4 separate regions of the Homo sapiens genome follow, and regions 2, 3 and 4 are each linked to region 1. Evidence: promoter capture Hi-C in 16 types of primary human blood cells and fetal thymus (Javierre and others, 2016). All regions are on one chromosome and are shown on one strand. The core of a region is centred on a gene start or on the middle of the fragment in contact, and the rest is flanking DNA. Distances in the headings are between cores, read along the strand shown.

What was found. Contacts are between HindIII fragments. The CHiCAGO score rates a contact against its expected background, and 5 or more counts as called.
Region 2: a contact is called between a fragment that was not itself captured here and the fragment with the promoter of OR6B3 in region 1, in 7 of 17 cell types (neutrophils, M0 macrophages, monocytes and 4 more). The highest score is 6.2, in neutrophils.
Region 3: a fragment that was not itself captured here is called in contact with the fragment with the promoter of OR6B3 in region 1 in 4 of 17 cell types (M1 macrophages, M2 macrophages, M0 macrophages and 1 more); the score reaches 7.3 in M1 macrophages.
Region 4: a fragment that was not itself captured here is called in contact with the fragment with the promoter of OR6B3 in region 1 in 5 of 17 cell types (fetal thymus, M1 macrophages, neutrophils and 2 more); the score reaches 7.0 in fetal thymus.

The regions. Positions count from the first base shown.
Region 1 is chr2:240,050,968-240,057,226 of GRCh38, forward strand. OR6B3 (olfactory receptor family 6 subfamily B member 3) reads right to left here and starts at 2,554. Exons shown (of 3, transcript NM_173351.2): 1 at 2,493-2,554. RefSeq lists enhancers at 3,866-4,508, 4,509-5,149. The HindIII fragment of the contact is 11,088 bases long and covers 1-5,013 here.
Region 2 is chr2:239,024,402-239,030,993 of GRCh38, forward strand. No RefSeq gene overlaps it. Among named protein-coding and RNA genes, the nearest start is that of MIR4440, 41 kb to the right of the region's middle. The HindIII fragment of the contact is 9,608 bases long and covers 1-6,592 here.
Region 3 is chr2:238,982,589-238,988,984 of GRCh38, forward strand. No RefSeq gene overlaps it. Among named protein-coding and RNA genes, the nearest start is that of LINC01940, 60 kb to the left of the region's middle. RefSeq lists enhancers at 2,392-3,374, 3,375-4,355. The HindIII fragment of the contact is 2,614 bases long and covers 2,437-5,050 here.
Region 4 is chr2:239,003,015-239,009,563 of GRCh38, forward strand. No RefSeq gene overlaps it. Among named protein-coding and RNA genes, the nearest start is that of MIR4440, 63 kb to the right of the region's middle. The HindIII fragment of the contact is 873 bases long and covers 949-1,821 here.

The DNA of each region.
Region 1 (6,259 bases), core at 1,304-3,803:
TTCAATCTGTCTCCAAAGCAGAATCACAGATAACACATTTCCCTAAAAACAATGGCATAAAAATCATTTTTTATGAATTAGAAAAAATAATAGAATTGATCGATAGCAGCAAAAACTTGTTCTGAAGTAGGCTTAGAGTTGAGGACAGTAAAACAGATGAAACAGGAAAATATGAGCATGCAACGCAATTTCAGAGACTAAAAAAAGAGTAAACTGCAGGTGGAGACCCACCAAATGACAGGGGAAGGGTTGGCGCTATTTACCAAGCACCTAATATGTGTTTTATTCAGTGGTCCTCTTCCAGCTTCAGTTTACAGATGACAAGGAAGACTGGGGGCTTAGAAGATGATTAAAAGCAATCATAGAAGAGTGACTGTTAAAGGCAAGAAAAAGGTCTATTTTTGAGAAAACTGAGTGAAGACAGAAAGCTCAACAGCATCATGATGTTAAAATTGCTTCAGAGAAAACCGACAGGCCCAGATACTTTGCCTGTGCCCAGCTTCTAGCTATGCCAGGAGCAGATCTTTCCTACATTAGGTAAACCCTTAGAGAGCATGGGAAAGTCCCAATTCATTTTACAAAATAGCAAATTCCTGATACGAAAGCCTGATGAAGATTTCAGGGAAGAAAAACTATGTATCGATTATTTTTTTCTTTTTTACTATACTTAAAAAACTCAAATAAAATGTCAGCAATTAGGACCCAGCAGCACTTTAAAAGAGCTCACGTGGCACTAGCGTGATTATTTCAGCGGTGCAAAGAGACTTCGAGGTTAGCAAATCTGCTGAAAGGATCACATTTGAAGTCTAGCTAATGCTAAAAGGCTTTGATTAAAAACTCTCCCAAAACTTTCATGCATCTGTCATCCCCAAAGAAGTGATTTTTCCTAACATGATAAATAATACCAGCCTCAACCAACAGCCTACAGCATCCCCACAGCTAAATACCAGGATCATTCCTGCTCCACCAAGGTCAGGATTAAGACAGGGCTCTTTGTTGTAACTACTGCTACGTAACAATGTGCCATTGTACTAGCTACCACAGAACAGAATAAAGAAGTAGACAAAATTATCATTATTTCCAGATGGCAGGACTTTTAAGCTGAAAAATCTGCTACACTATTATAATTAAGGGATTTCAAAATGAATATCAAAAATGTAGTCTTCCTGTATACCAACAATGACTAATTAGAATATTCTTAGATTCAAAAAAGTATATTGTAAAAATGTCAGTATCTCCAAATCAATTTTGAAATTTAACTCAATTCTATTTGAAATCTCACCAAATTATATTTTTCTTGAAACAGGATGAAATAATTCTTGAAATCATCTGGAAATATAAACAGATGAGAATAGCTAAAATAATTCAGGAAGAAGAAAAGAGAAGCAGGTTAATGAAGAGGCGTTTCTATTTTGGATAGAAAAACTACAATAAAAATAAAATAATAATTTAATAAAATAAATACTAAAGATAACGAGCACCACCATAAAGTCAATGGAACAGCATAGAGAAAGTATAGAAAGCCCTACATCAGAGCTGAGGATTTCTGTGATACTATTAGCAAGGAAAGCCTGGATTGTGTTAAACATGATGTCAGGATAGTTCATTAAACCCATGCTAAAAACCAACCGGGTCTGTTCTTCATATGTTACATCAGAAAGTGCATTTCAGATGGACAGAGCCTGCGATGCCTGCCGGTCCTCCAGCCTCTCCTAAGCTGCTGTTCTGTGGACACGACAGGGTAGAGCCCAAGCTGGAAGCCCGTGGGCCCGACACGCATAGCCTGCTCGTTGATTTCCTTTCAGCACTGATTTTTAAAGAATAATCCAATTAAAGATTATTTGTGACTTTTCTTTTTTTTTGAGACAGAGTCTCACTCTGTTGCCCAGGCTGGAGTGCAGTGGCATGATCTCGGCTCACCGCAACCTCCGCCTGCTGGGTTCAAGCGATTCTCCCACCTCAGCCTCCCGTGTAGCTGGGATTACAGGTGCCCAGCTCATTTTTGTGTCTGTTTTAGTAGAGACGGGATTTCGCCATGTTGGCCAGGCTGGTCTCGAACTCTTGACTTCCGGTGATCCGCCCACCTCAGCCTGCCAAAGTGCTGGAATTACAGGCATGAGCCACCGCTTCTTAAACATAAATAGGGAGACAGATTTTATGGTGGGGCAGACCGAGAATTCCAGTGGCTTCTGAGCACCTCTCAAGCCAGTTCCTCACACGCCTGTATATTGGGTATATTGGGATGTCATTTATCCTGCACGTTTCAGAAGGACAATTCTCTAAAACTTTCACTTTGACCTTTGTTTTTGAAAATCAGAACATTTCACACAGAGGCACCAATATCTGGTTTCTTTTGAAAAGCTGGAAGATCTGAGGCAACACCGTTCAAGGTCCTGCACTCACAATGCACCCTGTGGACAGTGCAAGATGCACCCTGCTCGCAGCATGGCCCCTCTCTCTGGGAGCACCTGCCCCGTCTGCCCACTGCTTACCTGATTGCAGCTGCAGGGCAGGGCGCGAGGCAGGCAATGATGTGTCTCTGCTCCTACTCAGATACCTCTGGGTCCCCATGTCCCCTGTCTTCTTGGGGTGCACATTCCCACGAATGCCTCTGATGAGGTCTCTTCCTCCCATACATAAAGACTCACAGGCAGTTATACTCCCTCCTCCCACTGCCATGCGGCTTCTGTCGCTGTGCACCTCGGGGACTAGCTGTCCCCAGAAGCCAGCGACGTTCTGCTCATTTCTGGGCCCACATTTTGGCTCTTGTTCTGCTCCCCTTTCCTTCAGTGTCTGGCGCTGTGGCCCCAGCCTTCCGTCCCCACCGTCCACACTCAGAACAATGTACCCGCCCCTGCGGTTCCTGTAGTCACTTCCAGCTGACGACTCCCAGGCTGCCCCGATCCCTCTGCAGAACTAACTCCTGTGTCCAGCCAATGACTCAAGACCTCCCCTGGCCATGGAGCCCCTGCCCCTGTGCTCTTCCTCTCAGGGAGTGGTGCGGCTGCCCACGCCCCCCGGATGCCCCACTGAGCTCCCGTGTGGACCCTTCCCCTCCCCTCCCTCCACACCCGAGCACGCCTGAGTCCTTCTGCCCCACATCTTAAATGCCTCCAGAATCAGGTCTGCTGTCTCCACGTTCATGGGCTGCCATCCACCCTGTCCTTGTTCAGGTTCCGTCCCTCCCAGGCTGGATTATTGTCACCGCTCTCTCACTGGTCTTCCTCCAGTCTCTCCTGACTCTGTCTGATCCATCATCCCAGTAGCAGGGAATGACATTCAGGGAATGACACGCAGACCTCTCTCCTGGCCACGTCCATTGCATGTTCTTAGCATAAGCCCCTTGCTCCTGAGTCAGCCTCTCTATGGCCTCACTGCCTCTCTTGCTCCTGCCCCTCCTGGAATCCCTGGCTGCTGCAGGAGGCACCTCTTCAGTGCCATGAGAGCACCGTGCTGATTCAGTCCCCACTGCTGCCCTGCCAGTTGCCCTTCAGGACTTGCCTCAGACGTAGCTTCTTCCTGATGGGCTCACTTGAGCTCCCGATGCTACTGTTAGCTGCTCCCAGAGATGAGGAATTTCAGGGTGCCTCCAGGCTTCTGCTTTCATTAGGGTTTCCCTGCAGAGGGGGAAAGTGCACTTGAGGAGAGAGAGGAAGATGAGGGGCTTAGTTTGGGGCATGCTGGGCTTGCAGCGCCTATGGGACACCCTGTAGAGAGCTCCAGGAGTACCCCTGACATCCAGAACGCCCACCAGAGACTGAGGTCAGATGTCAAGATGTGTAGGGGGTCGGTCCAAGGTTTATTAAGTGTCTAATATGTGCCAGTCATTGTTTCAGGCAATTGAGATAAATCAGGAGAAAAAAACAGTCCCAAACTCTTGCCTTCATGAAATGTAAATTCTAGTGAAGGCAGGAAATAAGTCAGAAAAATAAATAATACCCATGATATGTAAGGAAATTATTTAGAGTGTGGAAGGTGGTGAGTGGATGGGAACAGAAGGTCAGGGTGGGCTGGGGGGTGGTGGTGGGGATGTGCCAGAGAGGAGGCGACACCAGGGCAGAGTCTCAAAGAAGATGTGAGTTAGCCTGTGGCTGTCTGTCGGACACACGTAGGTGGAGAGAAAATGAGGTGCAAAGGCTGCAGGCTGGGGAGTGCAAGAAGGGGGTCAGGGGGTTGGGGCAAGGCTGGCTGCAGCAGAGTGATAGGGAGTGGCAGGAGACAGTGACAACCAAGAGCAGAAGGAGCCCACTCAGAGCCTGAGGTGGTGAGGACCATGGTGAGGACGTTGGCTTTCACTCTGACGGCAGTGGCATGGCACCACCCACACTGTAAATGGCTGACTCTGACCACTGCATTGAGATCGGGCTGGAGGAGTCAGGTGAGGAGGGGGAGCCCGTGCAGAGACCCTGAGGTCATCAGGGAAAAGGCTGCAGGAGCGCAGGCCAGGGCAGGAGGCGTGGGAAGGGCAAACCTGTCCGGTGTGTGCTGAAGGCAGCCTCAACGAGGCTTTCTGGCTGGGTCCCTGAGAATCAAAAGTGACACCAGGAAGTCAATCTGTGCTGCCTGCAGGGATGTGAATGAGATTGACCAAGGAAAATATGAAGACTAAGAGGGCAAGAATAAAAGTTGAGAAGCCTCCCCCTCTAGAAGCAGGAAGAGGAGGAAGAGGGGCTGGTGAAGGTGGTGGGAGACGTGGGGAGACACTCGGGGACGTGTGGCCCAAGCCAGGACACGGTGGCTCCTCCAAGAGGAGGGAGCATGATTGGCAGGTAGGAGGCCATTGGTAACGGCAGAGGGAAAACATATCAGGGAGGGTTTGGGGGCAGAAGCTCAATGTTAATGGGGCAGGCAGAATTGGAAAGGAAGTGGCACAGAGCTAGCAGGAGCAGATGCCTCTCAGGAGGAAGGAAAACAGTGATACAATTTGGTGTACTTTCACAGTTTACCATTTCCCAAAACATTTCATCCTTTTACTTCTGGTGTCTTGAAGTGTAAGTAGGTATTTTACTTGAAAGCTTTTCTGAACCCAGTTCTGTGGAGTTAATATCACAATGGAAAGTATAAACACCAAACAAGAGTCCTCCAGAATGTGTTTCTGGGGAAGATCTGTCCCCGGGGAGGATGCCTGGAACGCATGCTTCTGAGCTGCAGTGGAGATGAGCGTGCGGCTGGAGGGGACACGGCAGCAAGGTCTAGGGGGTGGAGGGTCTTAGAAACCTACGTCTTCCTGCCCATCCCTTGTCACGCCTGTCCCCAAAATCACCAAGACGGCGAAGTCTGGCCCAGGCCCAATGTGAGGGGATGAGGGGCACCCCCTAGCTGCTAGTTGTTGATGGAATTTGGGGTGGGTCTGGGACTGGATACAGGTTTGAGTTTGGGACCTCATGTGATGGTTCAGGGCCGTCACTCCCTGTGGGAGTCAGACAGGGGGACTGGTCAGGCCCCTGGCTGGATCAGGGTCAGGGGAACCGTCCTGCTTCCGAACGGACGCCTCACTGGCACCCTTGATCCACTTGGCTGGAGCATCATGTTTGCGGGAAGCGAAGCTCAGGGCTTTTTGAGTCTGTTTTTCTTTCTCGCAGCCCTCAAACCTCCCAATTGCGAGGAAAACCTCCTGTCATTTTCAGCCTCATCAAAGATGGGATAAGAGGAAATTCGAATGAGGGAGGCAAAAGAGGAGAGAGGAAGACAGAGAGTGAGCAGGAAGAGCAGAGAGGAGGAGGTGGAGCAGGCAAGGGGCAGTCCTCCACCTGAGTTCTGGTCCCTCCGCATCTCGAGGGCACAGGCACAGGTGGGTGTTCTGGCAGCAGCTCCAGCCCGCCACCTCCCGCGCCTGCCCCCCAGAACAGCCCTGCCTGCTCAGGCCCAGCAGCCGGTCACTGGCATGAGACCCAGTGAACATGGCCTTTCGGAAATGTGCCTGCCAGCATGCTTTCAGCAGGCTGCAGCAGGAGGGAGGGAGAGGCGGTGTGTGGTGGACAGGCAGGGAGGGCGCGAAGCAGAGCAGGTGCCACCCACATGCCATGCCTGGCACAGATGCGGGGTGAGCAGACCTGCAGTGGCTTCTTCCATCTTTCTACATTGTGGGTCAGGCAGGCAAGCCAGAGGGTGGGGCACATGGGAATGGGAATTGTGCCTGTGCCCCTGGGTGAAGATTTCAGACTGCAGAGGGAGAGGAAGCTGAGGTGGGAGGCAGGGCCCTACGAGGGGGAGTCCCACGTTGTGCAGTCACATCCCGGGCCAGTCATGGGGCAGGGAT
Region 2 (6,592 bases), core at 947-3,446, 1.0 Mb before region 1:
ACGACTCCGCCATTCCTGGAATGTTGACCGGGCCACACTGAAGGGCACTGAGGCCACAGGAGGGTGTGCAGACACTCACTGCCCTTGGTGGCCATGATTAGGGTGTCAGCTGCCCTCCTGGTTCTGGCCCCCTCTTGTTCTTCATGTTTCCATCTGTTTTCTGGTGGCTGTGGGGAGCTCAGGATGCCCAGGGTTTCCATAAAGTTGTCCTGCAGAGTGAGAACTCCAGGCTTCCCACATCCCTGTGAACAAACAGGCCTGTCCCTGGCCCAGAGTAGCCAGGGCCTTCCCACTGCTTGGCCCCACTTGTGCTGGCCACAGAGCACGGTGGCAGCCTCAGCTACTTGGGGCCACTATTGTTTGTCATGAGATCTGAGCTAAGAATATGCTGTGTGCCATGGTGAGGTGTATTTGCAGAGTAAAGCCTCAGAATATTTGCTTTGCATGTGTTGTTTGGAAACCAAAGCCTTTGAATTGTCCGTGAATTTCTTGGGCTCCTCCCGCAGTGTGGGGTCTGCAGGCCCAGGGGTCTTCTCTCCCTTGCTGCAGAAACACACCTTGCAGCCATAGTCTTCAAGCCCACAGGGTACACTGTCAAAGAAGAAATGTGTCCTTAACTTGGGTACAAATCTGTAATCCATAGAGTAGAAGGAAACCCACATCTCTGATCATCCCTGATCATAAAATCTCATCCTAACCCTCTCTGGACCTGAGAATCGTGTTCGTGACCCACACTCAGGGTCTCCCCAGGTTCACTGTGAATAAGCGGGATGTTTTCACTGAGAAACTTTGTGATTGTTCCCTCCATGTTAGACAGTGAGTCATGTGGCAAAAACCGAGTCAGGAGGAATTCTGCTGAATCAAGACTTTACTCTGATAGCATTAATCATGAGACAGACCTGCTAACACTTTTGGGCGTTCCCAAGACAGAAACTTACAGGCAAGTGGGAAAGGCAGCCAGGAAACTCAGCCTCCTGCATCCAGACTCCTCCACGGTCGCATTCTGCAGGGTTTGCTGGTCCCCTCTGCCAACCTTGTGGCTCAGCCACCCCCAGCAGCAGAGCCGAGGGTGTGTCTGCTCCAGGAGACGCTGGCCTGGAGGTGCTGTCTAGGGCAGGAGACACTGGCCTGGGTACTGTCTCCCAGGGAGGCTCAGCTCTGCCCGCCTGGCTTCCTCTGTGTCTGGTCCTGCGCAAGACATGGTCCCTGCCACACCCATGGTCCTGGTGTGGCAGGGATCCGGGGGGTGGGGACTGCATCCACGCTTCTGCTGTTCCGCTGGGACCAGGGCCCCTCGCGTTGTGCCCTCTGACGTGGCTTCACCTTCACTATGGCGGGGTTGGGGAGACGGAGGGTCCGCAGCAGCCCCATGCAGGCCACCTGCTGCTCCCACCTCAACCCCCTACCCCGCCCCCCGCCCCCCCCAGGCCAGGTCGTCCCGGGGGCTCTGCACCAAGTGGGTTCTGGAAGTTTCTAATTGCATCTGGGTGGGAGAGGGAGCTGCTTGGCAGCTCTATGCTGCTTCCTGCACTTTTCAGAAGAAAAAAATCATCTCCATCCCCATCTGTTTTCTTTTTGAGATAAAATCTATTTTAGGACAGAAGTATGTGCCCTGCTTTGCCCATGCTCACCTCCCCCACAGCTGGGACGTGGCTGCCTCTGTGGGTGGCTGCAGCTGTGCCCCGGCCGTCCCTCCAGCGCAGAGCCGGGCAGGGGGTCAGACCCTAGGAGCGCCTCTCACTTTGGCAGCCCCAGGAAAACTCATAAATAACAGTGTGCCCGCCCCCACCGTTGGCCCACCCTGTCCAGGGCCCTGTCTCCCTCAGGCTCCAGCCTCCAGGCTGCCAGGGAGGCCCTGGCCTGAGGAGTGGCCTTGCAGAGACCTCCCAAGGCAGCATGTGGACCCCCGAGACGCAGAGTGTGCGCTCAGAGATCCTCCCACCACTCAGAGTGCACACTCGGAGATCCTGCCACCACTCAGAGTGCACACTCGGAGATCCTCCCACCACTCAGAGTGTGCACTCAGAGATCCTCCCACCTGCACACGTGTTTTTCTCTCTTAACTCCATTGCAGAGAGGGGGCCGGGTCCCAGCGACACAGAGAGGGGGCCGGGTCCCAGCGACACAGAGGGGTCGGGTCCCAGCGACACAGAGAGGGGCCCAGGGTCTCAGCGACACAGAGGGGTCGGGTCACAGAGACACAGAGAGGGGCCCAGGGTCCCAGCGACACAGAAGCTGTTTTAGCTGAAATCACTTTGCCTTAAAGGCTTCCTGGGTACATGACGGATGTCCTCGTAGTTCCAAGCATGAGTTATTCTGGTCCCTTCTGGAACACGTTTCTAGAAGGAGGCCAGGTGAGAGGTGAGGCAGCACCGGGGCTGTGTCTGCCTACAGCAGAGACACCAGCACATCCTGGGGGCAGAGAGGGACGAGATCTGTGTCTGCCCAACCAGGCTGTCAGCTCCATCCATCCACACGGGGCTCTCTTCCCCGCCAGGGCGTCTTCCCCGCCACAGTCCCGGAGCACCTGCAGCACAGCCAGCTGCAGTCATGCTAGCGCCACCCGAGCCAGCACAGGCCTGTAGGTCGCGTGGCCTAATCCTCAGCCTCCCTGAGTGGAACGGTCCAGAGCGAACATTACTAGACGTGCGTTACAAGAAGAGTGAGTGGATAGCTCAATAGATGATGAGAAAAGATCCCTCGCAGCCCACACTTAGCATGCTCCCCCTGTCAGCACACTCAGTGCATTCCTGGGGGCCGTTCCTGGAAGTTGTCAGCAACAGGAACGTGGCGCTGGAAGCAGGAAGGGCCCAGATCCCAGAGAACCAAGGCAGGAGAATGTCATGCGTGGAGAGCCTCAGATGCAGCCCACCCTGGGCCGGCACTCCCAGCCGGTTTTATTGTCCCCAGGTCACAGAGCTGAGTTTGACAGGAGCTGCGGGGCGAGTTTGAATCTGATTCAAGGTGATGTTTTCTAAAATATTGGCAGGGTTTTTAGGACACTGAGAAAAGTAGGAAAAAATAAAAATAACAGAGGGTTTTAGACAACAAATAATAGAAAAATAAAGAACTGGTCTGAGCCACCCAGGATCGCTGTCCCTCCCTGGTGACCTTGGCAGTGCTGCATGAGGACCAGGCGTCACAGCCCTCAGAGCCCGTGACGATGCTGGCCTCGTCTGCCTGAGGACCCAGGGCGAGCATGGCGCCGGGGAACGTCTGGGGTGATAAGAGGATGTTCTCCCCACCGCTAATGAAACTGAAGGAGTTATGGACCCACTTCCAGGCCTGCGTGTCTATGCCACGTGTCAGCCCTGCCATCCCTCATGTCAGCACCATTTCAGCTCCAGGCCTCGGGTGTGAATCTGGCATTTCTCAGTTTCTCAGCAAATCTCCCACAGGGCCCCCAGCAGTGGCCACTGCACTCCAGGAGGTCCTGCCAAGCAAGTGGCCAGGACGGCGGGTCCCTACCGGTGGCCTTCAGCAGCTCCCGAGGACCGGCACGCCTATGGAGGGGACGCCATAACTCCAGGCCACCAAGCCCTTCCCCTCACTGCCCCAGAAGAGTTTTAATCTTTAGGACAACGCAATCAGAACCAGATGTTCCCCCAAACAGGGGCCGGGCCAAGGCGCGCCCTACACACAGCGCCGCTGAGCCAACAGAGTTGCGTCTTTTGTCTGGCGTGGTGGCCCACGCTGCGCGCACAGCCAGGGACCCAGCTGCCGACACCTTGTTTCCCCCCAGGCATGTTGACCACAAGGCACAGAGCCACGCTCGGGTGGGCCCAGGCGCAGCATGGGGCTCGAACCCTGCTGGGCAGCCCAGGGGACCAGCGGCTCCATCCTCGGGATTCTTCTCCTGGCTTCTGGGTTCTGTCCCTCCTCTCGCCCTGCCCTGTGGCCACGGGAGCCTCCCAACCCCAAACTAGCCTCATGATTTTCAGCTCAGCTTTCCCAGGGACTGACTCAGCCCTTGGTCTCCCACTGCCAAATTCCCAACCCAGGTTGTCGCTGGGAGCCAGGTCCTGGGGGTCAGAGGGTCAGGGTTGCTGGGCAGCTCATCAGAAGGCTGTCCTTGGGGCATGGGCCCACCTGGGACACAGGTGCCACAGAAGGGACAGTCCATGGCAAAAAATCCACAGCAGAGATTCCCTGGAGTGGCAGCAGGCTGTGCTGACAGAGCGAGTGTGTCCTGCCCGTCCCAGCTGCACCCCTTTGCTCATCAAATCCCAACTTCATCCTTCTCTCCAGCTCCAGTTGCTGCCTGCTACCACAGAGCCCTCTCACCCACGTCACCGGCTGTTTTTGTTTGTTTGTTTGTTTTTTGAGATGGAGTTTCACTCTTGTTGCCCAGGCTGGAGTGCAGTGGTGTGGTCTCGGCTCACTGCAACCTCCACCTCCCGGGTTCAAGCGATCCTCCTGCCTGAGCCTCCTGAGGAGCTGGGATTACAGGCACCCACCATCACGCCCAGTGAATTTTTGTATTTTTAGTACAGAAAGCGTTTCACCATGTTGGCCAGGCTGGTCTCAAACTCCTGACCTCAGGCAATCCACTTGCCTCGGCCTCCCAAAGTGATTACAGGCGTGAGCTACTGCACCCGGCCTGACGTCGGCAACTTTCAAGGCCCTGCCCTCCTCCGTGCGAGGGCCCTCGAGTCATCCCCTCCTTTGGGAGTCGGTGACAAATACCTGCTCCAAACCCACTAAGGTAAGACACACTCACCTCAGAAGTCACTTCTCAAAGGGAAATGGACAAAGAACTGCAGAGGACTCACAGTTGCTGCTGTGAGCCCGTGTGCAAGGTGCCAGGCGTCTTCTGCGGTGGTGGATGTGTCCTGTCTCTGAGCTGTGTGCTCCGGCAGCCACAAGCCACATTGGCTATAAAACCCTCAAGATGTGATTGAGGGGCTGAGGAACAGGACTTCTCATTGAATTTCACTTTAATGAATTTGGGTCTCATCTGAATAGTCACCTGCAGCCAGCGGGACCGTGTGGGACAAAGCCAGCCCTGGAGGACCCAGGGGAGCCTCATACTTGGGGTGCCAGAAACAGCACGAGAAGGTCAGAGCCAAGACGTCTTTGAATATGGGGCTAAAAAATGTGAACACCTGGTAAAGCTCTGAAAATGAAGTCGATATATGACTGGAGAATGTCAGTAGCGCCAGTGCCCTGTCCATACGGTACAACAGCATCAATAACCGGCCAGGAGTAGCCCCGTGCCGGGAAAACAGGCCCTGAGAGGCGAGTGATACATGCAAGTGAACATTTGACCCAAACAGACAATGTTCCAGTTGGCCAGTACTTAAAACCTTGAGCACAGGACAGTGCTAGGGAAGCACTGACTGGACGTACCTTCTCAAAGTCCACATTTGAAAACCTGAACGCAGACCTGAAGCCACAGCATTACGAGGGGCGTGCAGGGAGGCCCTCTTCACGGACGTCACAGAGAACAGACTGAGTGAATGCTGTTCACACCTTCCCTGGCCGCTCCATTCTAGAAGGTGCCAAAGGGATTTGGGGGTGCAGGGTGGTGGTGCATACAGACCATTTCTTTCCACAGAAAAGCATTTATTTAATGAGTAAATGAACACTCTATTGATGTTTCCAGGAATTAATTTTTCCCAAATAAAATGACTTTATCCATAAACTCTCATCACCATTCCCCGATGCCGGAGTGAGGTCCCACAGCACAGAGGTTAAGAGCGACGCTGCGGCAGCCACCCTGGGCTCAGGAGGGGCCACCAGGTACCAGCGTCGCTCCAGGGCTGTCTCTGAGATAAGCGTGAGGTCCAGCTGGGCACCTGTGACTTCAGCCCTTTCACAATGATAAGCATCTCATTCCATGCACTGACATTCTTCCTTAAAATAACTTGAGTGATTTTGGTTTCCTGCCTTCAACTATGACAGACTTGGTAAAGTGGAATCCCACGGAGCCATGAATAATAAAATCAGATCTGCTGATGAACCCATTTGAGTTTTCACTCAGACTATGACAGAGCCTAGAAAAGCTAAGGCAGTGATTTTTGTTTGAATGCTGATCTTATAGAGAAGATTTATTTCTAACATAATTTATTCTTATTGAGGTTCATTTAGGTACCGTGCAATCCACCTGTTGTGACAATTCAATGATTTTTTAGTCAATTTCTAGCGTTGTGCAACTGTCACCACAGTTTTATTTTCATGTTTCAAGCATTTCTATCACCCCAAACCAAAAAGTTCCCTTGTGCCCATTTGCAGTGAATCCCTGCTCCCATACCAGCCCTACCAGGCACCTGCAGAAATGCCTTCTGTCTCCATAGATTTGCCTTTCCTGAGCACTTCAAATCAGTGGAATCTCATAATGTGAAGTCTTTTGCATCTGATTCTTTCATTAAGCATGATGTTCTTCACACACATCCGTGTTGTAGCATGTGTCTGTACTTTGTTCGTTTTGAGTTGATGAGTAATGTTCTACTGCATAGACAGACCACCGTTTGCTTATCCACTCACCAGCCAGTGGGCATTTGAGTCTGCTGTCTGTTGTGAATCATGCCGTTGTGAGCATTCTCGTACAAGTCCTTGGGTGGGTATGTTTCATTTCTCTTGGGTATGTACC
Region 3 (6,396 bases), core at 2,494-4,993, 1.1 Mb before region 1:
TTTTAAGTACAGGGGTGCACGTGCAGGTTTGCTACATAGGTAAATCTGTGTCACAGGGTTTGTTGTACAGATATTTTATCACCCAAGTATTAAGCTTAGTACTCATTAATTATTTTTCCTAATCCTCTCCCTCCTTCCACCCTCCACCCTCCAATGGATCCCAGTGTGTGTTGTTCCCCTCTATATGTCCCTGTGTTCTCATCATTTAGCTCCCACTTATAAGTAAGAACATGTGGTATTTGGTTTTTTGTTCCTGTGTTAGTTTGCTATGGATCATGGCCTCCAGCTCTATCCATGTTGCTGCAAAGGACATGATCTCATTCTTTTTTATGGCTACATAATTATATTGTGTATATGTATCATATTTTCTTTACCCAGTCTATCATTGATGGGCATTTAGGTTGATTCCATGTCTTTGCTATTGTGAATAGTGTTGCAACGAACATACCCGTGCATGTGTCTTTATAATAGAATGATTTATATTCCTTTGAGTATATACCTATGGGATTGCTGGGTTGAATGGTATCTCTGTCTTCAGGTCTTTGAGGAATTACCTTGCTGTCTTCCACAATGGTTGAACTAATTTATACTCCCACCAACAGTGTATAAGCGTTAAAAACTATGGACTTTTTGACTGGGATTGCATGAAATCTACATACCTATTTGGGAAGAATTTACATCTTCATATATTAGCTATTTCTCATCCATGAACTTAATGTATTCTTCCATTTGGGAGGCTGAGGCAGAAGAATCACTTGAACCTGGAAGGTGGACGTTGCAGTGAGCTGAGATCGCACCACTGCACTCCAGCCTGAGGGATAAGGCAAGACGATCTCAAAAAAAAAAAAAAAAAAAAAAAAACCAAACAAATAAAATAAATAAATGAATAAATAAATAATGTCTTTATAAAAAGTTCTCTTTTTCCATCATAGAATTCATATGCATTTTGTTCAAGCTTATTTCCAGGGACTTCATTTTTTTTAAAAAATGGTTTGTTTTTCTGTTTTTTTCCCTAGTTGTTTCTGGAATGTAAAATGTAATTGATCTTTGTATATTGATTTTGTATCCAGCAACTTGTTACATTCTTATTAATTCTAATAAATTCAACTTAGATTCTTTATGTACTTTTAGGCACACAATCATAATATCTGTGAATAGTGGGGGAGCTGAACACAGCTCACTAAAAGCAGGACACCCATGTGGGTGGTTATGGGTATATTTGGCTTTCTCTAGTTGGTCCTATGTTAGAAGCAGGGACAAAAATTAGGGAAGATGTCAGCTGTTCATTGAATCCTGGCCACTTGGGGTCAGTTGTTACAAAGGCTCTTGTTTGGCTTCCTGGACAGGTTGCTGGAGATGGTGGCCTGCCTTCCTCCACATCTGGCTTATTGACAGCAAGCTGGCCTCGGGGCTGGTCACTGTAGGAAAGGGGTGGGTTTCCGGGGCTGGTTGCCGCAGGTTGCAGGCCAGAGCTTTGTTTTTGTTTGTTTGTTTGTTTTGAGACGAAGTCACGCTCTTGTCACCCAGGCTGGAGTGCAATGGCGCAATCTCGGCTCACTGCAAGCTCTGCCTCCCGGTTTCAAGCAATTCTCCTGCCTCAGCCTCCCCAGTAGCTGGGACTACAGGTGTGCGCCACCACACCCACCTACTTTTTTTTGTATTTTTAGTAGAGACGGGGTTTCACTATGTTGGCCAGATTGGTCTTGAACTCCTGACCTTAGGCGATCAGCCCGCCTCGGCCTCCCAAAGCGCTGGGATTACAGGCATGAGCCACCACGCCCGGCCGCTCTGTTTGTATACACGGTCTGACCAGTGTCCATCTGTGTAGTCAGCTTCTCACTCTGCAACAGGTAACTAAAGGAAGCATGGAGATCACTCAGCTTCCAACCTGGCTTCTCTCTTCTCAGCTATAAGACTGAGTCAGGATCCACCATCTAACTCTGCTGTGAGCAGGGTCAATATTAAATGATCCTGTTCAATGTTTTCACCTGTTTTCCAAGAAAGGGTCTGAATGATTTGAAGAGGAAATATTTTTGTTTAGAAATAAATTATTGTCAAATAACATATATCAAAATTTGAGAAAAAATAAGCATTCAAGGTCTCTGACTTGACTGAAGAAAGCTTCAACATGTGCATCTATAGTGAGACACAGTCATTTTTGTGGTTGGTGGGGAGCTGCTTTTCCTACAGAAGTACGGAACCATGCATGACGCTGGCAGAATCCAGGTCAATGAGCATGTGCTTAACCATAATTTTTAAAAATACATATTTTGTTTTGTACCAAAGGGCTTTCATCTTCTCCTCCTTTGTAAAAATCACACAGCTTTTGAGTCCGTTTGTGTTGGCTTTCATTGAACTGTCCTGGGTTTTATCAGCCCAGAGACATTCCCTCCAGGACTCCTACGGGTGCCACCTCCAGAGCGGTAATCAGGGCTAAGCTTAATTAGAGAGAAAAACTTCCAGAAAGGGCAACTCCATCCCTTTTTATGGTAAAATAAACACATTTCCAAAAGGGGCCTTTCCTTTAATTAAATTCTCTGCAATGTGGCAGCTGCTTGGGAGGTATTTTTGCATATTTGGGTTTAAGAAGATGTATGTACATAGAGGTGATGTCACATTTGGAATGATGAGTGTTTATAAGACCAAGTTTATGAGTTTACTAACTCGCAAGCCAGCTATCTTCATACCAGAAAGGACAAAGCCAGCGTCCAAGCGTGGGCCTTCCCACGTCCAGCCATCTCGTAAAAACAGGCGAGGTGGGCCTCGGGAGAGACACAAATGTCAGGGGCGCAACACAAAAACCGAACAGGAATGTGGGGATGGGGGCTGCCGGCCCCTGGCGCTCAGCGGGAGGCCCCACCATAGAGCTGGGGCCCAGGGAGTTTGAGTATTTACCCCAGAGGTTACCCAGGATGGACGTGTTCAGTCTGGGCACACAATCAAAGCCCGCGCGGGCCCCTCAGGGAGGGTCTTTCCCCTCCTGCTGGGAGGCAGGGTCCCCAGCGCCCCCTGACCTCGCCCTTGCAATTGCTCAAACTTCAGGACCGCTCATCCCAGGCTCCACGGGGCTGCTGCAGAGCCAAGAAGACCCTGTTCTACTGAGCGACCGTTCAAGGGACAGTACTTTTTAGGGGGGTCAATATGAATCTCCTAATTTAACCTCTCCGCTGCCACAGCCATTCAACCCGTCCCTACAGAGCTCCTGCAGCGGTGCTCACGTGGCCTTCGGGAGGATCCACCAAGGTCACCTGCGTCACACCGGGGAACGACTCCCTCCCTCCCAAGAAAGCTCCGAGACAAAACCTGTACCAGGAAGGGTCCCTCGGCTCGTGGTGCTGCAGTGAGCCAGGCTACACCCTGGCTGGCAGAGCCCCGGGGCTTCCAGCAGCGCAGCCCTAGGCCTGCGGAGGGAAGGCTGCACTCCAGCCTGTCGGGGCCGCCGGACAGCTCTCCTGGGAGGCTTGGGCCTGGCACACTGGGGCCCTCGCTCCCCTCTCCATCGCCCTCTAACCTTGGTTCAGCTCCCGGCCCGCCCCTTCCCAGTGGGAACAAAGGCAGTAGCGATGTCCTCGCTGCCGCCTTCTTCCTCCAAGAGGAGTCCACTCCCTGCAGTCCGGCCCCGCTGCCTCTCCACGCGGGCTGCCTCTTTCTCATCCCTGCGCCGGCGCATCCTCTCAGATCCACAGCAAGGAGGGGACGTGCGGGGGAGGGGTCGGCTGGCTAAAACCCAGGCTCGCCCACAGAATGGTGGGACCCCTGCCTCAGGTGGTGGGAGATGCGTGCAGGGTCCCAGCCCCAGGGCAGGCGCCTCAGCCTCTGCGCGGGGCCGCCCTGCTCTTCCCTGGCTCGCTGGGATCCAGGCCCTGGTCTAAGCCCCTGGCCTCACCTGCCCTGCGCAACCAACGGCCCCAAGGTCCAAATGCAGGGACCCTCTCGGTGACCCAGGACGTGCTCAAGTTACCTTCTTCCTGGCACACACACCCACCCCTAAATTCAAAACTATCCCCGGCCATTTGGGAAGCAAGGCTCGCTCTCGCTCCCCTGGGGCTGTCTCCTTGCGCGGAGGGCTCCAAGCTCAGGGCGGGTCGGCTCAGGCAGGGTCTGGGGGCTCGGCGGGGCGCGGGTTCAGGCAGGCCCAGGGAGCAGGCGCATGGGGCGACCGCAGAGCTCCAGGACACACAGTCCGGGTCAGTGTTCCCTAGAGACCCCTCCAAGAGCCCCTCCTGGACACCTGTGCCGACGCGCAGCCACATTTGTCCTCTTCAGGTGGAAACAGGGCCAGTCTGACACTCCCCAGTCCACGCCCTGCACACCCCCAGACCCTCCACCCTTGAGGTGGACGCCGCCCTGAGAAACCCTCTCTCCTTCCTCTGGCAGCGTCACCTGCCGTCTGCACTGGCACCTGCCGCAGTTCTCTAAGTGCACCTGGGGACGCTCACTTGTGGCCTCAGGAGAAGGATCTGGAGGACGAGGAAGACAGAGGCAGGGACATTTTCTGATGCATCAGAGACCCGCGCCTACTGCGTTAGCCCCAGTAGAGACAGCCCTGGATTTTAGAGCCGGTAAAGCCTGGGGTCACTGTGGAAGGCTCTGTCCCGCTCCTGAGGAGACCCTCCCTCTTCTGCCGGGTTCAGGCGTGGAGATCAGAGGGCAGGCAGGGACCAGAGCATCTGACTCCCGGGACGCCTCACGACCCCGAGAGAGGAGCATAAATGTGGCCTAACAAGAATGCCCTTCTCACCCCCTTGCATCCTCCCCTCCCGCAAGCATCCCTGGTGAGGGGACAGGCAGGACACACCATTGAAACATAATTTGAGAACACAAGAAAACAATATGAGGCTGATTTCTTAGCATGCTGAATGGAGAGACGGTCAAAACAAAACAAAACAAAAAACAAACTAGATGGATTTCGCAACTGGAGGCGGAAGGAGCTTTGTAAGAGCCCAAGGAGAATCTAATTAGAGACTTCAACTAGAGTTTTGCAAATGAATTATTTACAATTCTTCAGAGGGAAATGATTATAATAATAACCTTTACAATGCTGAAATTAAGCTTATTATGCTCTTTTCCTCTGCCCCAGAAATTGTCTGAGGTCTGTCATCAGGCAAGATGCAAGGCGTAAGCTCTGCCTCCCGCTCCGGGCAGCGCCTGGGGCCAGCCTCGGGCCCTGGCTCAGCCCAGAGTCGGGGATGTGGTCAGCCAGGCGTTTAAAAGAGAAAGCCAGCAAGCGTCCTTTGCGTCTTTCCGTCCTTTGTTTCTCTCTTGTGACTTGAGGATGCTCTAAGTCAGGCTTGAGGAGTTGCAGAGGCTCAAAGAAGAAATCACAGCATCTATTCCTAGGGTGGGCAGGCCCCGGAACTGCCAAATGTAAAATAAACCATGTGAACTGAATGAGAAGAGGGGTAGAGGTGTTATGAAAAAGCAACTCAAAACAGGAGATTCCTTATGGCCTCCTTGGCACGTGCTACTTGGATTGGGAACTGAGGGTCAATCTGTTTAGAAGTCAGCGCATCCCAGGGGCTAGGCAGCTGATGCTGGTCCTCACAGAGCCCCCGACAGGGGTGCAAAGCGGGTAAATGCTACACCTCAACATCCCTCTTCAGGCCCTGCACTGCTGTCCTTCGATTTTATTAACTTCCTCCTTGACATGGGCCAGGCCTCCTCCCAGCCCTTCCTTGCCTCGGGTCCCCCAGGGCGTGGCTGCAGACAGGGCTGACTCTGCAGGTTGGCAGGCACTGCAGTGGCTGTGTCTAGTCACTGTACCCGAGTCCCCATCCCAAGTCCACACCACACCTGTAGTGGGTTGAATGGTGGCCCCCACAAAAGATAAGCCCATGTCCCAGAACCTGTGACTGTTTCCTTGTTTGGAACAAGGACCTTTACAGGTGTGATTAAATGAAGGCTCTCGAGGCCAGATGATCCTGGGTGATCTGGGTAGATCCTAAGTAGCCAACGACAGATGTCCTCCTAAGAGACAGAGGAGAAGACACAGGGAGAGGCAAGGGCCGTGCCCATGCGGAGACAGAGGCAGAGATGGAGGAGAGCTTGGAGCCACCAGAAGGCAGAAGAGACGAGAATATTCTCCAGGAGACCCTTTGGGGAAGCACAGCCCAGACACACCTGGATTTTAGACTTCTGGCCCCCAGAACTGGGAGAGAGTAAGTTCCTGTTGTTGAAGGCACCCAGGTCATGGTCCTTTGTGGCAGCCCCAGTGCCATCAGCCTTCCCCAGTGATCCCTCTCCATCTGTCTCTGCCACCGCCCTCCCTCCCTGAGAAGGCAGCGGTGGGCGGTCATGCCCTGTCCCATCTGCTCACTCACACAGGCCTCATTCTTGGCCAATCTGTAAACAGGCACCTGCTTGGGCAGGACTCTGGCAGCAAGTGCTGGAGTCCAA
Region 4 (6,549 bases), core at 135-2,634, 1.0 Mb before region 1:
TTTACATAAATCAACTTAAACCCAACTTGGAGCCCCACCCTGTGGGGCTGGCAGAAAATGCAACTCTCTCCCCTCCTAGAGTCCCTCCAGGATCCAGAAGCTTCCATGGTGCCCAGAAGAGCTGAAGGGCTGGGAGCTGTCACCACTGCCTCAGTGCCACTCGCACGCAAGTCCCGCTGCCCTCAGGCTGATGGCTGTTCCTCCACCCTGCCCGATGCCTGGGGATCCTTGCCGGGGATGAGAGCCTCAGGGCACAACATGGGCAGCCGTGTGCGCTCCACCCTCCCAGGCTGTGCCTTGGAGCTGTGCTCAGACCTCAGGTCCTTGGGGACACCAGCCTCCTCCTTTTCCCAGCCTCAGTGAATCTTGCCCTCTCCCTCCCACTCGCCTCCTGGGTTTGGGTTTTTATGAAATGGGTTTAGGTTTTTACAAAAGACAGAAAGAGCCTTTGGCTTTGAGCTGCTTTGGCGTTCTGCCTGGAAAAAAAATCCCCGAGGCAAAAAAATTACAAAGAGCCGGGTGATCTGCTTGAAATTGGATGAGGGGGAGAAATAAGAAAGCAAAACAAAGATTAATATCTCCACCCACCCCCTCAAAGTGTATTCCATCACACATCCCATTAAGAGCTGGCGAATGAATGGGCTGCCATTCTGAGAAGGGCCAATTCTTGGGGGAAACAGCTGGCAGTCACCACGTCCAGAAGCCGGCGATGTGGGGGCAACTGAGGCAGGGGCCACGGCCCAGCCAGTCGAGCAGAACTGGAAGGATCACAGCCCAGCCCCGGCTCGGAATGGCCCCTCGGCAACCACCCTGAGTTACCGACAAAATGCCGACGGACTGTTTCAAACTTGTATTCTCTTAAGCACGTTGGGAGAGTATGTTTCTGTGGTTTAGAACGCTTACTATCAAAAGAGCATTTTGAACATAATTTTGTCCCTTAAAGAGGTAAGCTTCAATTACTTGAGAACTTCATGGAAGCCTCGCATTTTGCAGCAATGCCGGGTCCGTGCGTACCATCGTCTGTCCTGGTTGTGTCTCTGTGTTCTCCATGTGAGAGGGCGGGGAGGGCCGACCAGGGCTGTTGAGGCTCAGGTTCCTCGCGAACTCTGCAGGGACTCCTGGGCACGCCACTCCCCTTTTGCCCCCCATGGCATTTATCTGTAAAGTAAGAGTTCTGCTGGGTTAAATGGCGCCACCTCCAAAAGATATGTCCAACAGGAACATCAGAGTGTGCCCCTAGTTGGCCCAAGGGCCATGTCATTAAGATAAGAATCTCGAGATAAGATCATTCTGGTTTAGGGTAAGCCCTAAACCCAATGCCAGGAGTCCTTAGAAGAGAAGAGAAGGGGAGAAGACACAGAGCCACGGGGAAGGAGGCCACGTGGAGACAGAGGCAGAGGTTAGAGTGATGCATCCAGCAGCCAGGCTTCCCCGCACCTGCCAGGAGCTGCAGAGAGCCCCGGAGAGATTCCCACTCACAGCCGCAGAAGAAACCAGCCCTGCCGCCGTGATGTAGGACTTCCGGCCTCCAGAACTGTGGGAGGACACATTTCTGTTGTTTGAAGCCACCCAGTTTGGGGTCATTTTTTATGACACCCCTAGGAAACTAATTCAGGAGGTTAAACTAAATCATTTCGAAGCCTCCTCAGAAATCTCCAGGCTATGGTTAGGAAGCGGGGTCCTGAATGTGGAATCCCTCTGAAGAACACAGCACACATATTCCCGTCTCCATCGTCTCCCTTCTCTCTGGAATCCGGGCCGGCCGAGAGGAAGCTGCCCTTCCCAGGCTGCTGCACCAGAGGACTGGGGGCCTGCCAGTGAAGCTTACAAGAGAAATGGCTGTAGGATGCAAAGATAGTTAGCCTGGGAAAGAGGAGACGTCCAGGGCCGTGGTAAGTTGAAAGCTTCTCATTTGGAAAAGAGATTAATCTTATTTTCGGTATTTCCAGAGGCAGCCCTGCAAGAGGAGTCAGATCTCTTTTCTTATTTCTTTCTTTCTTTATTTAGAGATAGAGTCTTGCTCTGTCGCCCAGGCTGGAGTGCAGTGGCACGATCTGGGCTCACTGCAACCTCTGCCTCCCAGGTTCAAGCGATTCTCCTGCCTTGGCCCCCCGAGTAGCTGGGATTACAGGTGCCTGTCACTATGCTCGGCTAATTTTTTATTTTTAGTAGAGATAGGGTTTCACCATGTTGGCCAGGCTGGTCTCGAACTCCTGACCTCAAGTGATCCGCCTGCCTAGGCCTCGCAAAGTGCTGGGATTACAGGTGTGAGCCACTGCACCTGGCCAGGCTGGTCTCGAATTCCTGACCTCAAGTGATCCACCTGCCTTACCCTCGCAAAGTGCTGGGATTACAGGCGTGAGCCACCACGCCCGGCCCAGATTTCCTTTCAGTACAATTTCCTACAGGGAGAAGACTGCAGCCCTGGAAGGGCAGAACCTGCCTCTGCTGGTAGCTGTGCAGGCAGGTAAGGGTGAGAGAGGGTCACAGCCCTGTGGGTGTTTGGGCTGGACAACCTGAGACCCCTTTTAAATCTGAGTTTTTGAAAGTTCATTATTCCTTGGGCTTTTTAGATCTCACCAATACAATTTAATTCCACAAAATCAGAAATCTCCAGTGAGCAGGGCCCAGGAATCTGCATTCATGCAAAGAGCCGTTGTGTCTCAGGCAGTCTGGAGACTCAGGCTAGTGACTGAGTGTTCCCTCAGCTGAATACAACCCGACCACAGCCAGCTACAGCCCCAGGGCTTGACCCACTGGGGACACCCCAAGACCACCTGCCCTGGCTTGGGAGGAGCTCCCCTTCTCTGCTGCGGGGTTGGGTCCTTGCCCTATGCAAATGCCCTTGTTGGCTGCAGATGGATCAGCCTCTCTCTTCCCATTTCTGAATTTTGGCCAAGATTAATAATAGGAGATAATTTCTTAAAATGCCCTTTACTCCTCTTTCCATCTTTCCCTAAAACCCGCCTCCTTCTAGAAGCCCTTTCTAGCCGCTATTTTCTGTCTGTCTCCATTATTCTCTAACTTAGCAAGCAAGCCATTCCCTTAGTTTATTGAATTTATCAGCTGGGGTGAATGTGTTTGTTAGCTTACTTTTTAAACAAAATTTTTGTTTTGAATTGACACATAACAATTGTACATGTTTCTGGGGTTCACCGTGATGTTTCCATGCGTGCACACGTGGTATAATAATCAAATCAGGGTGGTTAGCATGTCAACCCCTCAGACCTTTATCATTTCTGTGTTGTGATAACATTGAGATCCTCTTTGCCAGCTCTCTTGAAATATATAATACATTCTTATTAACCCGCTGTGCCATAGCACACCAGGCCTGTTCTTCCTGTCTCACTGGAACTTTGCACCCATTGACCAAGCTCCTACCCCCGCCCATCCATCCTCTGGGAACCACTGTTCCACTCTCTATTTCTATGAGATCAACGTTTTTGGATTCCACATGCGGGTGAGATCATGCAGAATGTAACTGTCGGTGCCTGGCTTATTTCAGGTAACATGATGTCTTTGATCTGTCTCTTTCTCTCTCTCTACTCTAAGCTCCCTGGGAGCAGGGGCTGTCTTTCTCTTATCCATTCTCAAAGTCCCAGTCCTTAGCACAGGGTCCTGATGCACAGTAGGCGCTTATATCCACCAGTATTAGGTTCAGCAGCAAAGAACAGAGACCCCGAATTACCATTGACCCAACCACACAAGATTTTGTTCCCTCAAGCAGAAACTCCAAAGGTGGACAGTGCAGGTGGTGTGGGCAGCTCGGCTCCACACAGCCGACAGGGATCCAGGCCCCTTCCACTCTCTGCTCCACTGTCTCCCAGTGTTCTCGTAGTCTGAGATGGCTGCTTAGATCTAACCTATATATCCATATATCAGACAGCAGGAAGGAGGAGGGATGATTCGGGGCACAGCCACTTCCCTTTAGGGAAGCAGCACACAACACTTCCAGTTACATGCCATGAAGCGGATGTTAGTCATGTGGCCAACCATAGATACAGGAGAGTCTGGGAGGTATAGTTTTATTCCAGTCAGCCATGCACGGTGCTAGAAAGAGTTCCATTTCTAGGAAATAGGGGTGTGTCCAGCAGCCTCTGCAGTGGAGCTCAGTAATTATAACTTGAATAAATAGGTGACTCAGAGCTCAGCCCGAACTGGTAGAATCTTAGGTCACCTTTATTTGACAGGGAGGATGCCCTGCTATTTACGGGCATTGATCTTTCTGCCCATAAAAATGCTGCTGGCATTGCTTCAGTGACTCAGGGACATCAGACCAGCACCCAGGTGGATGGCAAATCCCTGGAGAACACAGACATCCTTCCCTTCCCTTCCATCATGTTCATTTGTCCCTCATTCCTCTTTCTGTCCCTGCAGCACCGGGCCCTCTGCCTTGCACACCGTGGGTTGAGCAAACGTTTGTTGCTGGTGATGATGGTGGAGGGAAGGATGGTGTTCTCCACAGGGTTTGTGAGGGGCACTCACCTGCCTTGAGTGTTTTCCAGATGGGCTTTCACAGTTCTCTAAAGTCCAGTATAAATACGGCGGGGAAATGGGGCAGGGCTGTTGCCATCTTCCAGTCGGGAAAGGACTGGCAATTGTCCTCATGGCAATGGTGCTCCGTTCATCACCAAATCAACGTGCAGAGCTCAGGGTGCAGACGGAATCATCGCCTTTCTTAATTATTTTTGGTTAATAAGGAAAACACGGGCTCCTGGGCCCTAGACAGACCCTCCTGAGTTGCAGAATGATCAATCTTTCATGGCTGTGCCTTCACCTTCATAGCAGTCACTTCTTCCTGCTTTGGATGAATCAAATCCTATTTTCAACCAGACTTATCAATGTGCCCTTAAGAGGATTTGAAACCCTGTCGCTACTGAAAAAAAAAAAATTAGCTGGGCATGGTGGTGAGCACCTGTAATCCCAGCTACTCAGGAGGCTGAGACAGGAAGAATTGCTTGAACCCGGGAGGTGGAGGTTGCAGTGAACCGAGATTGCACCATTGCACTCCAACCTGGGTGGCAGAGTGAGACAAAAAAAAAAAAAAAAGACAATTACTTATGTGCACCAAACACACACTCACTGTCTCTCTCAACCCATAACTCACTGCAGCCAGGTTCCTACTCACACCGCAGCCTCAGTTTCTCTTATGCTTCTGCCGTCCCCTGTGAAGACCACACCCAGCCACCCTGCAGCGTTTGTGCCCCTCCGCTGCTCCGAACGGCTGAGCCCCTCGGGATGCCTCCGAGTAGATGAAGCTTCCTCATGCCACTGCGTCCTTCCTCTCCATCCTCCTTCATCCGGAGGTCTCTGCTATGTCGTTTCTGGGTTTGCCATTTCATTAGAACTGTTTCTCCAGTGCTTTCCTAGATGAGGCACTTAGGTGATAAACTCACTGAGGTTTTATGTATCTTCAAATACCTTCTGCTCCTAACACTTCGACAATCTCTTTATTGAGAACAGGGGTTCCTGGGGTGCAGTCTTTTGCTCTTCCACTGCTTTTAGCTTGCAGTGTTGTAGATGAGAAGCCTGAGACCATTCTGATTGTTTTGCTTTTTTAGGTAACATATTCCTTTTGACTGAAAAATGGTTGACTTTTCTTTTTCCTCAATGCAGAAAGTACAGCACTTATAATTTTCCATTCCATTTTATTTAGTAAAATTTGTATACAATAAAATGGATCCATTTTAAAAAGTACATGTTTTGACATGTTTATACATCTATGTATTCATTAAAATTTCCATCACTATCCCAGTCAACTCGGTGGCCCCTGACAACGACTGGTCTGATTTCCATCACTATGGATGCAATTTGTTGTTTCTGGAGTGTCACACAAAGGGAAGAATACAGTGTGTATGCAGAGTTCGGAGGCTGTTACCATGACATAGCACAGAGGGCATCTTTTCTCATCAGCTGAACCTAGAACTCCGTGAGCCCTTCCATGCCTACTCTGCAGGCGTCCCCCAACTCAGGGGAGAGTTCCGATATGTAATGACTGCCCTTCCTCCATCTGTGATTTTCCGCGCTCCTGTAACTTGTTACTCTCAGATCAGATCTCCTGGGCCCGACCCCCAAGCCTCCTGCATTCCGTCGGCGTCGGCCTCTTTCCCGCTCTGCTGTGTCTGCCTAGCTGTTTCTCACCCTTTTCCTTCCTCGGGTCAGCGTCTGCATCAAGAGTGAGTCTTCAATCGTCTGCCGGATGTTTTCATGATGCGGGCCAATTTTGAAGCTCCTGGACTTCGTTCGCGCCCTGGAATTGGGATCTTCTCACGTGCCCTGTGGGTTTTGATCTCAGGTGTTCGTGGGCCTCCTCCCACGCTCCGTTTCGCTGGCCACGTGGGTGGACGGCTCCCTCTGACCTTCCTCACCTGACAATACCCAGGCGCTCCCTCCACCCCCTTCTATGCCCACCCGGCCAGATGGAACGTTCTTTTTTTCCCACCTTTGTCAGCAATTTGGGGCACAGGTCTATTGCTGCAATGTCCTTAATGCCCAACAGGTTAAAGACAACAATAACAACTAAGGGATCCGCCCCCACCCGCTTAAAGG